Regions from separate parts of the Homo sapiens genome. Here region 1 is linked to region 2. Evidence: promoter capture Hi-C in human tissues and cell types (Jung and others, 2019). All regions are on one chromosome and are shown on one strand. The core of a region is centred on a gene start or on the middle of the fragment in contact, and the rest is flanking DNA. Distances in the headings are between cores, read along the strand shown.

Region 1 (6,892 bases), core at 370-2,869, 87 kb before region 2:
AATTGGACTTTTAATTTTGCCCTTTTGCCTCAAATGGAAATTGGAAAACTACAGATAAATAATTGCCGAATTCTGGGTTACTGTACCAAATGATTCTGTCTGTTTAGACATTACATATGGCAGAAAAATCATCAGAAATTGCCTCTACATTACCAAGTTAATTTTGAGTCAGTGTTTTTGAAAAAAGGCACAGGTTGCTTACAGTATGTAGGTCAAATGCCTGGTTTTGTTTATTATTTTGCTAGCATTATCTGTGTTAATGCTCATCTTTATCAAGAGCTTATCTGTACCACAGCGAGAAAATATAATCAGTTTCTCATAGGCCATTTTCCCTGTACTTTATTAGTTATACCTATCTCTTTTCAGGACATCAAATTTAAATTGATGGAGGTAGGTTTGCAAATTTGGGGTTAGAAAGATCAAATTTGCCGTCTGCTTATGTCTCTTTTCCCTTATAAAAGACTAGATCAGTTTTTGGTAAGTTAGTTGGGAGTTGGAGGGGTTAGAGGTTTGAGGAAAGTGAAGAAGATTTGAAATGGCTCTGTGGATAGTATGTAAGTTGACCAGAAGGTGAAGTGAATAATAATGGACCTAGTCTGCTTTCTTAAGAGACTTTCTCCCGACATGGAGAAAATGGTTAATTGGGTTCATCTAGGATTGGGTTCTGCGAGAGAGGTGATGTAGTCCTTAAGGCTCTGCACAAGTATTCCGGTTCACCTATTTTTGGGTACATGTAATGCTGCACTCTTTGTACATGGGCAACCCCTCTCCATGTCTGCTTGAAGTTAAATGTGCCATGTGACTTGCTTTAGGAAGCAGCTCTCCATTTGCCATTTCCACTTCTCCCTGCCCTGCTGTAAGGGTCATGGAAGGACTTGTTGAGATGCAGCCTCTTGTCAGCCTGGACACTATAGGAAAATATGAGTGGCTGATCAGGCAAGTTGGAAGAACTGGGAAGTTGCTGTCAGAGAAGGGGATACTTAAATTAGTGATTTTATAAGGTGGAACTGTAGGGGAGAGTAGATGAGGAAGTTTGGAGGGAGAAGGTAGAGATGAAGTGCTCAAGGAACTCAGAGGCTTTTTACATGTTCCTAACCCGGAAGCCCTTAATTTATTGCAACTTAGTTCAGTAGTGATGACCGTTGGACTTAATGGTAAACTTGAAAGCTCCCTTATTGTGAATTATGGAATGAATAAATCAAGATTTGGAATTTAGTACTGAATTGAAAGATTCATTACCTTGATCATTGAGAAGTAAGTCAGCAACCATGAAAATTGCGATGTTGCTTAGCCACCAGGCAGGAGAGTAAAAGGTAGGCCAAGCTACTCTAACAGAGACTCCAAAATATAGTAGTTTTAAAAAATGCTTAGCTTGTATCTAAAATCTTTGATAATTAACTGAATTTTTAATAAATATAAGGGATAGAGGTAAATAACACTATGAAGAAAGAGACAAATTCAGTGTGAGACATTATATAACTTTGCTGTCGAAAGAGTATTCTATGGGCCCCCAGCAGTGGCTTCAGTTAGAAGCTTTTTAGGTAGGTAGAATCTCAGGTCTTGTGCCAGACTTGTTGCATCAGAACTTTCATTTTAACAAGACCCTCAAGGTGACTCATGCACTGGCCTGATCTCTTTAAAAAGCTAAAGTCTTAGGCAAGTAACAGGTTGGAAGAACTGTTCTGTTAATAGATTAAAAGATACTAAAGAGACATAACCAATATCAAGTGCAAACCTTGATTGAATCTTTTTCAAAAAACCAGCTATAGAAGACAATTTAGGGTCAACTAAGGAAATTAGAATATGATGGAATATGAGATGATATTAGAAAATTATTAATTTTCTTAGATATGATTACATTGTTATATAGGAGAATGTGCTTATTTTTAAGAGATACATGCTGAAGTATTTAGGGATGAACTGTCAAGATCTCTACAACTTTCAAATAGTTCAACTATGTGTATATATATATATATATATATATATATATATATATATATATACACACACTCACATACATATATGTGTCTCTCTATACACACATATTGATATTTAGATAAAAACAAACATAGCTAATTGTTAATAGGTGTGGAATTGGTGGGGCACCATGGCTCATACCTGTAATCCCAGCAGTTTGGGAAGCCAAGGCATGTGGATTGCTTGAGCCCAGGAGTTCGAGACCAGCCTGGGCAACATGGGGAAATCCCATCTCTACTAAGAAATACAAAAAAATTATCTGGGCATTGTGGTGTGCACCTGTAGTCCTAGCTACTTGGGAGGCTGAGGTGGGCGTATCACCTGAGCCTGGGGAGGTTGAGGCTGCAGTGAGCTGAAATCAGGCCACTGCACTCCAGCCTGGGCCATCAGAGTGAGACTTTGTCTCAAAAAATAATAATAGCCGGGCACGGTGGCTCACGCCTGTAATCCCAGCACTTTGGGAGACTGAGGTGGGCGGATCACGAGGTCAGGAGATCGAGACCATTCTGACTAACACAGTGAAACCCTATCTCTACTAAAAATGCAAAAAAAATTAGCCAAGCCTGGTGGCACACGCCTGTAATCCCAGCTACTTGGGAGGCTGAGGCAGGAGAATTGCTTGAACCCAGGACGTGGAGGTTGCAGTGAGCCGAGATCCATCTCAAAATAATAATAATAATAATAATAGTAATAATAATATAAATGTGGAATCTAATTAGTATATGAGTGTTCATTATACTGTTCTTTTAACTTTTGTAGATGTTTAAAATTTTTCATGATAAAAAGCTAGAGTGAAAAACCCCCAAAAATGTAGTAGCTTAAAAAGATAGAAATTTAATTTTCTCTTAATATTCCAGTGCTAGTTGTACAACACAGGTATAGAGTGGCTTTACTATGCTTGGCTTACAGCTATCCATTTTTGATCCAGTATGGCTCATCCAGCTCCTACTATTTCCTTGCTAGCAGAAGGGAGGAAAGGGTAAAGAGAACTCATTATCCAGAAGCAATACTTACTCCGTTGATGAAAACTTTAGTTTTGGTCATTCACCTGGACATCATATATTTAGGGGTTGTGTCTTGGTTCAGCCTGGTATAGCAAATTATTATAGACTGGGTGGTTTAAACAACACAGACTTATTTCTCACAATACTGGGAGCTGGGAAGTACAGGGTCAAGATGCTGGCAAATCTAGTATCTGGTGAGGGCCTTCTTCCTGGTTTATAGATGGCCATCTTCTCGTATATCCTCATGTGGATACAAAGGTAGCTTTCTAGCCTCTTATTATAAGAGGCCAGTCTCATTCATGAGGGCTCCACCTACATGACCTAATTACCTCTCAAAGGCTTCACCTCCAAGTATCATCACTTTGGGGATTAGAGTTCAACATATCAATTTGGAGTGGGGACACAAACATTTAGTCCATAATGGTATAGTTGGCAAAAGCCAATGGAATATACCATGTGTATACTGATTTAACAAAGATTTATTTCATTTCAAGTGATGTTCCCCTCTTCTTCCTCTGTTGATTTCCCGGACCAGTTGAAATTGAAGTCATTTCAGTTTTAATACACATTAAATAAAATATAAAATTTTAATTTTGAAGACTAAAATGTATGAATTTTTTTCCCTCAATCCCTTCAGTAAATAACAGATGCGGGTGAAAGATCCAACTAAAGCTTTACCTGAGAAAGCCAAAAGAAGTAAAAGGCCTACTGTACCTCATGATGAAGACTCTTCAGATGATATTGCTGGTAAATTGTGATATATGGCATCCCAAATAGTGTTGAGAAGAAATAACAATGCAGTTGACCCTTCAACAACATGGGTTTGAACGCTGAGGATCAACTTGTACACAAATTTTTTTCCACCAAACCTAGATGGAAAATACACTATTCTTGGGATGCGTGAAAACTGCATACTTGGCAGGCTGACTTCTAAATGCAGATTCCACGGGGCCCACTGCGGGACTTGAGTATGCACAGATTTGGGTATATGTGGGGAGGTCCTAGAACCAACTACCCCACCCCACCTCCCTGCCTCAAGTATCTGAGGGAAGACTGTATATGTTTTTAATTAAGAAATCTGTTACTCTTTATTTTTACTGTTTTCTGCATAAATATTAGAATCACCTTTTCTAGTTCCAAAAAATCCTGTTGGCATTTTTATTAGGATTTTGTTTAGTTTATAACATGAAGTAACTTAGATTGGCTTTTTTTTTTTTTTTGGTCTCTTTCTCATGGCCTATTAAAACCATGTCACCAAGCCACCAGAGCTTGGCAGATGGCTTTTGGGAGCTGCTGGCCTCAGGGCTTGGTTTTCTCTTTAGCCTCATGCTTTTGATTTGGGCCTCTGAGGATTTTCCTCACTTTCTTGCTAGTTCTCTCCATTTAAAGGGATATTTTTAATATATTTTTTCCATTTTAGGTATGCATAGTTGCATACAGCTATACACAAACACACTCACATATGAGTGCCTATGTCTTCTGAAATCCGAATAAGTTCTAAGGATTGTACCAACGTCAGCTTCCTGGTTTTGATATTTTACTATAGCAGTGCAAAACATTAACATCAGGGGAGGCTCAGTGAAGGGTGAATGAGACCTCCTTGTATATTTCTTTATACCTTCCTGTGAATCTAAAATTAGTTCAAAAATTTAAACTCTAATAAATTAGGGACATCAGATAAGGTCCTAATGATATTTAAAGAGATAATTCAGACATCCTTCAGTGCAGCAAACTGGCTATCGAAACATCATCCCATTTTAGTACATGTATAGCTTTGTATAACCACCACCAATCAAGATACTTGACTGTGTCATCACCACTCTATGTGCTGTCCATTTATAGCAACACCCTCTGCCTTGCGTCCATTGCTCCCTACAACCATGAATCTCTTCTCATTCTATAATTATGTTATTTCATGAACATTATATAAATGGAATTATATAGCATATATCTTTTGAGTTATTTTGTGTGTTCAATCTCTGTGCTTTTTAGTTAACAGCATTTAATACTTTTGAGGTTTGCTCAGTAATGGTAGCACTTTGGTGTAGCAAAGAAAATGTTGAGATTTTGTTTTATCTTATTCAGTAGGTTTAACTTGCCAACATGTAAGTCATGCTATCAGCGTGAATCATGTAAAGAGAGCAATAGCTGAGAATCTGTGGTCAGTTTGCTCAGAATGTTTAAAAGAAAGAAGATTCTATGATGGGCAGCTAGTACTTACTTCTGATATTTGGTTGTGCCTCAAGTGTGGCTTCCAGGTAAGAAAAGTATTATTTATATGTGAGTTTGTCTGAAATGTTTTCCTTAAATGCTTATTGTGAGTTGGACTGTTGGTCATGCATAGGAGTTAAGATAAATTTATTCCAATTTAGATAGAAATTTTCCAGGAATGAACTTAAAAATGATTGTTAAGGTAAAGTAAAAGGTATGCTATGTTCAGAAAGTAATCAGGTGTGGTTTATAAATACTTGCAGAGGTAATTCAACCTATTTGCAGTAGTTCCCATATCTGGACCAGTCTTTACCTTTTGTATTTACTTAGGAAATGGATCTACCTTTCAGATTAATTTTTTTCTCTCTCAAAACAGATTATTCTGCTGCTTTTGCAAAGTAATTTAAAATCTTAAAGTTTAAAAGTTATTGATATCTGTAATAAAGGAATTTTTTTAATGAAATTAAAAGTATATACTTTTTTAAAAAAATAAGAGAAATCTTTATTATTTCACACAAAATGTCCAGAAGTAAGGCCACTTCAGGATTAGTTAATTTAATGGAAAGAACATTAAAAACTGAGGTTTATTCTGTTTTCTGCTGTGCCATCCTCAACCTCATGGTTGTGTTCCTCTTAAAAAACAAACAAAAAAAAAGCCTTCTGGAAAGATTCAGCGGATTTGACTTCCCCTCATGTTGCATTAACCAGAATTGCATCTCATTTCTTTACTTACCTAGTGAGGGAAATCGCTATGATTGGTCTGTGTCTCAGTAGTTCTCAGTAGGCTGGGGTGAAGTTGTGTACGGGATTGGGAAATGTGTGTTTGCAGAAGGGCACCACTGGCCTGCCAGGATGCTGGGTGTTCCACAGTGTGCACATTTTTAAATGATAGGGAAATTAACTTTGCCCATGATTGTTTTAGGTAAATACTGTATATTGAGCATGTTAGCCTGTTGGCAAGAAATTAAATTTAATGAGAATCCATATTACTTTTTTGAAACTTTCTCCTCTGGCCTGAAATTAAAAACAAAACTTTTCAGTATAAGTGTGAGTATAATTTAAGTTTTGATTAATTTGAAACAAACATTTGTAAGTCATACAAAATAAAATTCTGTTCATCTTCAGGGATGTGGTAAAAACTCAGAAAGCCAACATTCATTGAAGCACTTTAAGAGTTCCAGAACAGAGCCCCATTGTATTATAATTAATCTGAGCACATGGATTATATGGTAAGTTAAATTTTGTTAGTTCTTGTGTCCACTAACCACAGCCCCCCAATTTTTTTTTTTCTTTAAGCTTTTAAGGTAAAATATTTAAAGATGTTCTATCAGCTTATGGTTTTTTAACCTGAACACAATCTATGGGATACTTCAAGAAAATTAATATTACCTGTGAATATAAAATTTAAATTGGAAAAATTTTAACTATCTCTCTACTTTTTGTTGTTGTTGAGACAGAGTCTCACTCTGTCGCCAAGGCTGGAGTGCAGTGGCGTGATCTCAGCTCCCTGCAATCTCTGCCTCGTGGGTTGAAGCAATTCTCCTGCCTCAGCCTCCTGAGTAGCTGGGACCACAGGCGCATGCCGCCATGCCTGCCTAATTTTATGTATTTTAGTAGAGACAGGGTTTCACCATGTTGCCCAGGCTGGTCTTTGAACTCCTGAGCTCAGGCAATATGCCCTCCTTGGCCTCCCCAAGTGC
Region 2 (6,551 bases), core at 3,924-6,423:
AGTTGCACAGCTTTTTTGAGACCATTTCTTAGATGACTAGGGACTGTAATTTCTCTTAATTTGGAATAGCCACAAGTTGTTGTAGCCAAGGTTTGTGTGTGTTTTTAATACAATTCTTAAAATTTTAGTAGGCTTCTCATCTGTAGATAGATTTGAAGGGGTGGGTTGCCCCTCCACACCTGTGGGTGTTTCTCGTAAGGTGGGACGAGAGACTTAGGAAAGAAAAAGACACAGAGACAAAGAAATAAGGGGACCCGGGGAACCAGCATTCAGCATATGGAGGATCCCGCCAGCCTCTGAGTTCCCTTAGTATTTATTCATCATTCGTGGGTGTTTCTCCGAGAGGGGGATGTGTCAGGGTCACAAGACAATTGTGGGGAGAGGGTCAGCAGACAAACACGTGAACAAAGGTCTTTGCATCATAGACAAGGTAAAGGATTAAGTGCTGTGCTTTTAGATATGCATACACGTAAACATCTCAATGCTTTACAAAGCAGTATTGCTGCCCACATGTCCCACCTCCAGCCCTAAGGCGGTTTTTCCCTATCTCAGTAGATAGAACGTACAATCGGGTTTTATACTGAGACATTCCATTGCCCAGGGACGGGCAGGAGACAGATGCCTTCCTCTTGTCTCAACTGCAAGAGGCATGCCTTCCTCTTATACTAATCCTCCTCAGCACAGACCCTTTACGGGTGTCGGGCTGGGGGACGGTCAGGTCTTTCCCCTCCCACGAGGCCATATTTCAGACTATCACATGGGGAGAAACCTTGGACAATACCTGGCTTTCCTAGGCAGAGGTCCCTGCGGCCTTCCGCAGTTTTTGTGTCCCTGGGTACTTGAGATTAGGGAGTGGTGATGACTCTTAAGGAGCGTGCTGCCTTCAAGCATCTGTTTAACAAAGCACATCTTGCACCGCCCTTAATCCATTTAACTCTGAGTTGACACAGCACATGTTTCAGAGAGCACGGGGTTGGGGGTAAGGTTATGGATTAACAGAATCTCAAGGCAGAATAATTTTTCTTAGTACAGAACAAAATGGAGTCTCCCATGTCTTCTACTTTCTACACAGACACAGTGACAATCTGATCTCTCTTGCTTTTCCCCACAAGTTTGAATCACAAAAGATTTTAGGTAAGAACAGGCAGTCATTGAACATAAGTTTACCTTACTTTCTCCAACCTGGCCTAAATGGACAATACCTGCATAAAGCCCAATGGGATCTATTGTTAAATAACTAAAGTATTATTTTATACCCTCGTATTTCATTATGCCAGATTCACTACTATCTAGGAAATGCTTAAGTAACTATATTAAGAATCAAAGAGTAGGCTGGGTGCGGTGGCTCACACCTGTAATCCCAGCACTTTGAGAGGCTGAAGTGGGCAGATCATGAGGTCAAGAGATCGAGACCATCCTGGCCAACATGGTGAAACTCTTTCTCTACTAAAAATACAAAAATTAGCGGGGCGTGGTGGCATGCGCCTATAGTCCCAGCTACTTGGGAGGCTGAGGCAGGAGAATCGCTTGAACCCAGGAGGCAGAGGTTGCAGTGAGCCAAGATCACGCCACTGCACTCCAGCCTGGCAACAGAGTGAGACTCCATCTCAAAAAAAAAAAAAAAAAAAGTTGTAATTTGTAATGATGTGCCTGTAGCATACTAGCTTTAAATATTTTTCATCCTCCATTGTATTATGTGGTAAAATATATACAACATAAAATTTACCACTTTAACCATTTTTAGGTGTATAATTAGGGTCATTAAGTGCATTCACATTTCCAGAATTCTTTCATCATCCCAAACGGAAACTCTGTACCCATTAAACAGTAACTTCTCATTCCCGCCTTCTCCCAACTCCTGGGAACCTCTATTCTACTCTCCATCTGTGTGAATTTGCCCATTCTAGGCGCTTCATATAAGTGAAATTGTACAATATATGTCCTTTTGTGTCTGGTTTATTTCATCTTGCATGTTTTCAAGGTTTATCCATATTGTAGCATGTATCAGAATTTCATTCCCTTTTAAGGCTGAATAATATTCAATTGTATATATATACCACAGCTTTAAATTTTTATTAGGTTTTAAGATGGATGTGATATGGCACCTAATAACACTATAAAGGTTCAAATCTCAAGAAACAGCAATAGTTCCTATTTCGATATATTTTCCACATATCATCTTACTTAGCTTATTTCCATTTTGCTTTAAGGATAATTTGTTTCTGTAATAATGGAAGGTGACATGTCCTCCCCTAGAATTTTCTACTTCACTCCATTCATTCATTCATTCATTCATTCATTCATTGAGACAGAGTCTCGCTGTGTAGCACAGGCTGGAATGCAGTGGCACGATCTCGGCTCACTACAACTTCCACCTCCCGGGTTCAAGTGATTCTCATGCATCAGCCTCCTGAGTAGCTGGGCCACCACACCCAGCTAATTTTTGTATTTTTTTGTAGGCAGTTTCCCCATGGTGGCCAGGCTAGTCTCAGACTCCTGGCCTCAGGTGATCCACCCTCCTTGGCCTCCCAAAGTATTGGCATTACAGGCGTGAGCCACATTGGCCAAATTTTCTACTTTAAACACTGAAAACAGAGGAAGTTAATAAAAATTTTAACCTATAAAGTCCCCTGGTTGTTAGTCATTAACAGCAGATTGTCAGATAAGACTGGTAAAATGATGGCTGCTAAGCATTTGATGATCCAGGCGCAGGATGATCAAACTGCAGCAGATCATGCACGTGACAGCTGCTTACATAGAAATTTAACACCACAACACACATTCTTAGAAAATTCTGTGTTGAAATACATACACTTACCTGATGTGTCCATAAGATCATAATGTTACGGGGAACTCTTAGAACAGAGTGGTTAGAGAAAGGGAACTGGAATTGGAACTGTAAAATTCATTTTCTGGTCTGGTAAATAGCAATTGCTGAGGGTGTCTCATTAAACTGGCACAAGGAACAAAATGTGAGGTATTTAATAATCCTCTCCACTTCACAATGCATTTCCAAAATGACTGGCCTACATTAGGATCATTGTTGAACATATTAATGCAAACATATAGCAGATGTAAAAATTTCTGTGTGCAAAGCAGATGCTGGCCACTTGGAGGGCAGAGGTGAGGGGGAAATCCCTTACCCGAAAATTGCCTCACCTTTACTAGGGAAACAAGCAAAGAATTACAATATGATTATAGAGAGTAGGAACATGACAGTTTCACTAGGCCAATCAGGTTTCTCTAAGAAGATAGAACATTCCTCTGATGAGAATGTTTCTCAGAGAATTAAACTTGAAAATCAGACCTGATGCAAAAAACTTGGAAAATGCACAAAATCACAGAGCAAAATTAGAGATTACTGATAACATGTGGTATATGTCCTTCTAGTTTTTGCTCCATACAGTGGTTTTTATTTATTTTATTCTTTTGAGACAGAGACTCACTCTGTTGCCCAGGCTGGAGTGCAGTGGAGGGATCTCGGCTCACTGCGACCTCTGACCCTGAGTTCAAGCAATTCTCCTGCCTCAGCCCCCCTAGTAGCTAGGATTACAGGCGCCTGCCACCACGCCCAGGTAATTTTTGTATTTTTAGTAGAGACGGGGTTTCACCATGTTGGCCAGGCTGGTCTTGAACTCCTGACCTCAAGTGATCTGCCCGCCTCGGCCTCCCAAAGTGCTGGGATTACAGGCGGGAGCCACCAAGCCCGGCCCATACAGTGATTTTTTAAAATCAGACTGTCCAGTAGTCTTATTTGTGCTAAGTGGAAATTAGGGAAAGGGTCAGAGAAATAGGGATTTCCTTTTGCCTTCAGTAGTATCCTCATGAACCTGCGTCATGGTGTTGTTAGGTGTAATTAATGAAGGTTTCTCACAAGATAAAATGTTATTTTGAGGACCACGTCCGTGGATTGGAGGAAAGGCAGATGGTTAGCTAGTGACGACTTTATTATAATGCTAATTCAGGAGTATCTGGGTCTCTAGTGCTGAGGAAAACTGAATTTTCATGCAAAGGGCATCTATATTTTCACATCTGTATCTTTATCCATCTAGCTGTGCTCTTACTATTTTGTTTCTACGGTAATTTGCTATTTCTTTTGCACGACAATTGCCCAATGAAATAATTCAGATACTTCGTGCACTTTGTCACGCAGAAGTTTTCATGTTACTCTCTGGAAAGGCACTTCCCAAGATGTAGCTAATAAACACTGTATCTTTGGAACATTTTTGTTTTCCTTTTAACTTGTAGCTCCTAGCCTGGAAATTGATACTTTTGACACTTGAACGTTGTTCATATAAAAACACTGTGAAATCAACATACTGTCTTTGAGGAATGGCATTGCATGCGTCCTTTTGAGAAGCCATCTTGTAGTTGAAGGAAAGCAGCAGGACGGAAACCAGACTTCCCCCCCACGGTTCCCTAAAAGTCACGGATAAAGAATGAAAAACCGGGACTAGTTAAGCCAAGGAGAGAAGAGCAAGTGTTCCCGGAAGGGGGCGCGATGTGTTGAGGTTAACAAAGAGAAAGACAGCTGCGGGGTCAGCTAAGGTCTCCGCTTTCGCTACCGACCCAGACTGCTCACCTTCACAAACTCACGTTTTCCTCAAGCGGCACCCTCGGCAGCGCTCAAGTGAGAGTATTCCATCCTTGGAATACTCCGAGAAGGTTCGAGCCAGAAGTTGGATTGCCTGAAATGCCGCTTCCAGCGCACTAAGTAACTTGAACTGCGCTAAGCAACTGGCCAGAATTGGTTTGGTTTGGTTTGACCCTGGGGTTCCTCCGTAGTCTGTAAGTGGAGTTGCGAACTCAACCCCTTCTCCAAGGCGGGAGTGTTTCTAGGAGGGAACATACTTCCCCTTAAAGGAAGATCACGTTGCTAAAGTAAAAAATTTGAAGGCGCCCTATGTGTAGAACACTTACGTTCTTGGCTTTCTGGCCACTATAAAGATGGGTCGGGAATGGCGCCAGCTACGTTAAAAAGTAACGTGCAGGAATGGTTCAGTTGCCCGGTGTTGACCAGAGTAGAGATGGTTTTGCCCACAAAAAAAATGGCGCCGAAACATGTCAATCCGCACAATCACGTGTTCACAAACCTGGATGAGAGATGGTATGGCTTCAGATGACAAACGGATGTTATTATTCTTTACTTCCGGGTGAGACAAATCGGGCGCCATCTTGTCTTGTTCCCGAAGAAGTAGAAGCATCGAAAGCGTTGGAGAGGTGTTACCGGAACGGCGGCGACAAGGGTGTTCCCGAACTAGAGTGGGTAAGTGATGGAGAACAATTATACGTGGGCACTTGCCGGACCATTACAACGTTCTTGGTTTCTGTGGCGAAGGTAGCATAACTTAAAATAGGCTGCGTACGCTGCTTGGCGCGACCGCTGGAACCTCATTCCTTTAAAGCGCTGCGGTCCGCCAGACTTGGTAAATCAGAGCGCTGCTTTCGCTGAAAAGGAAATGTCCTTGTTAAAGAGAGTGCTCACGGTCCCATCTTCTCACAGAGTTTCCTCTCGGACGAGAAGGGACTAATTGTTGGGTTCCTGACCGGCCGTTAAACACTGCGCGTGCGCAGTGGGAACCCCCTTGTGGGAAGGGGGTTCATGGGGGCGGAGGAGGCGGGGGCTCGCGACCTGGAGCTTATACCCTTTGAGGCTCTGACTACGCAGGCGCAGTTCCTTAGTTTGTGTTTTTCGTGTGTTCTTACCCAATGATGGATATTATGTGTTAAGCTTCGCTAAAGGTAGTATCCAATATTTCAGTTTTTTACCCTGTGGTGGATAGTATCGTCATCTGAACAAATTGAGCATTAGACAAATTTGTTTGTGGGTTGTTAAATTAACATTCTAGCTTAAGATTTTAATTCAACATTAATCTTTTACATCTTTTTACTTCCCCCTGCCCCCAAGTAAAACAAAATAAACTTAGAATTCCTCATTTGAGTGCAGCAGGGCGAAAACAACAGCAACCAGACTACTAAAGATTTTACTTGTGGAATTTTTTTGTAAAGTGGCAAAGGGCTTATAGAGAAAACAGTTCTTTAAAGATGTTCTTGAGAGTTTTTTTTTTTAACTTACTAATAGACTTTATGTTTTAGAACAGTTTTTGTTTACGTTGAGCACATACGACGTCCCCACTACACACACAGTTTATCTTCTTATTAATAGATGTTAGTATGGTACATTTGTTGCAACTAATGAACCAATAATGATAAATTATTAACTAAGGTCCATAGTTTATTCCTACTTCCTCACATTTTACCTAAAGTCCTTTTTCTGTTCCAGGATGCCAGCTAGGATATCACATTACATTTAGTTGTTGTATATTCTTAGGCTGTATATTCTTGGCTGTGACAGTTTCTCAGGCTTAACTAGTTTTTGATGACTGTTAAGGGCTGACTTGTGCCCCTCTAAAATTCGTATCTTGAAGTCCTAACCTCAGTACCCCAGAACGTGACTGTATTTGGAGAGAGGGTCTTTAAAGAAGATGAGGTCACTAGGGTGGACCTTAGCCCAATATATTAATAACTGCTGTCCTTATAAGAAGAGAGTA

The links. Contacts are between HindIII fragments. The study calls those that stand out against the background at their distance.
Region 1: a fragment that was not itself captured here is called in contact with the fragment with the promoter of PNISR in region 2 in 3 of the 25 tissues and cell types used here (H1 embryonic stem cells, dorsolateral prefrontal cortex and hippocampus).

Annotation. Positions count from the first base shown.
Region 1 is chr6:99,506,957-99,513,848 of GRCh38, reverse strand. It overlaps USP45 (ubiquitin specific peptidase 45), which reads left to right. Exons shown (of 18, transcript NM_001346022.3): 2 at 3,619-3,728; 3 at 5,067-5,239; 4 at 6,318-6,421. The coding sequence starts at 3,629. Among named protein-coding and RNA genes, the nearest start is that of USP45, 5.0 kb to the left of the region's middle. The HindIII fragment of the contact is 6,905 bases long and covers 1-5,071 here.
Region 2 is chr6:99,423,930-99,430,480 of GRCh38, reverse strand. PNISR (PNN interacting serine and arginine rich protein) reads left to right here and starts at 5,173. Exons shown (of 12, transcript NM_032870.4): 1 at 5,173-5,266. PNISR-AS1 (PNISR antisense RNA 1) reads right to left here and starts at 5,610. Exons shown (of 3, transcript NR_125843.1): 1 at 5,367-5,610; 2 at 5,094-5,257. RefSeq lists enhancers at 4,372-4,421, 4,314-4,608, 4,492-4,711, 4,311-4,831, 4,832-5,351 and 3 more and a silencer at 5,515-5,695. The HindIII fragment of the contact is 23,928 bases long and covers 1-6,551 here.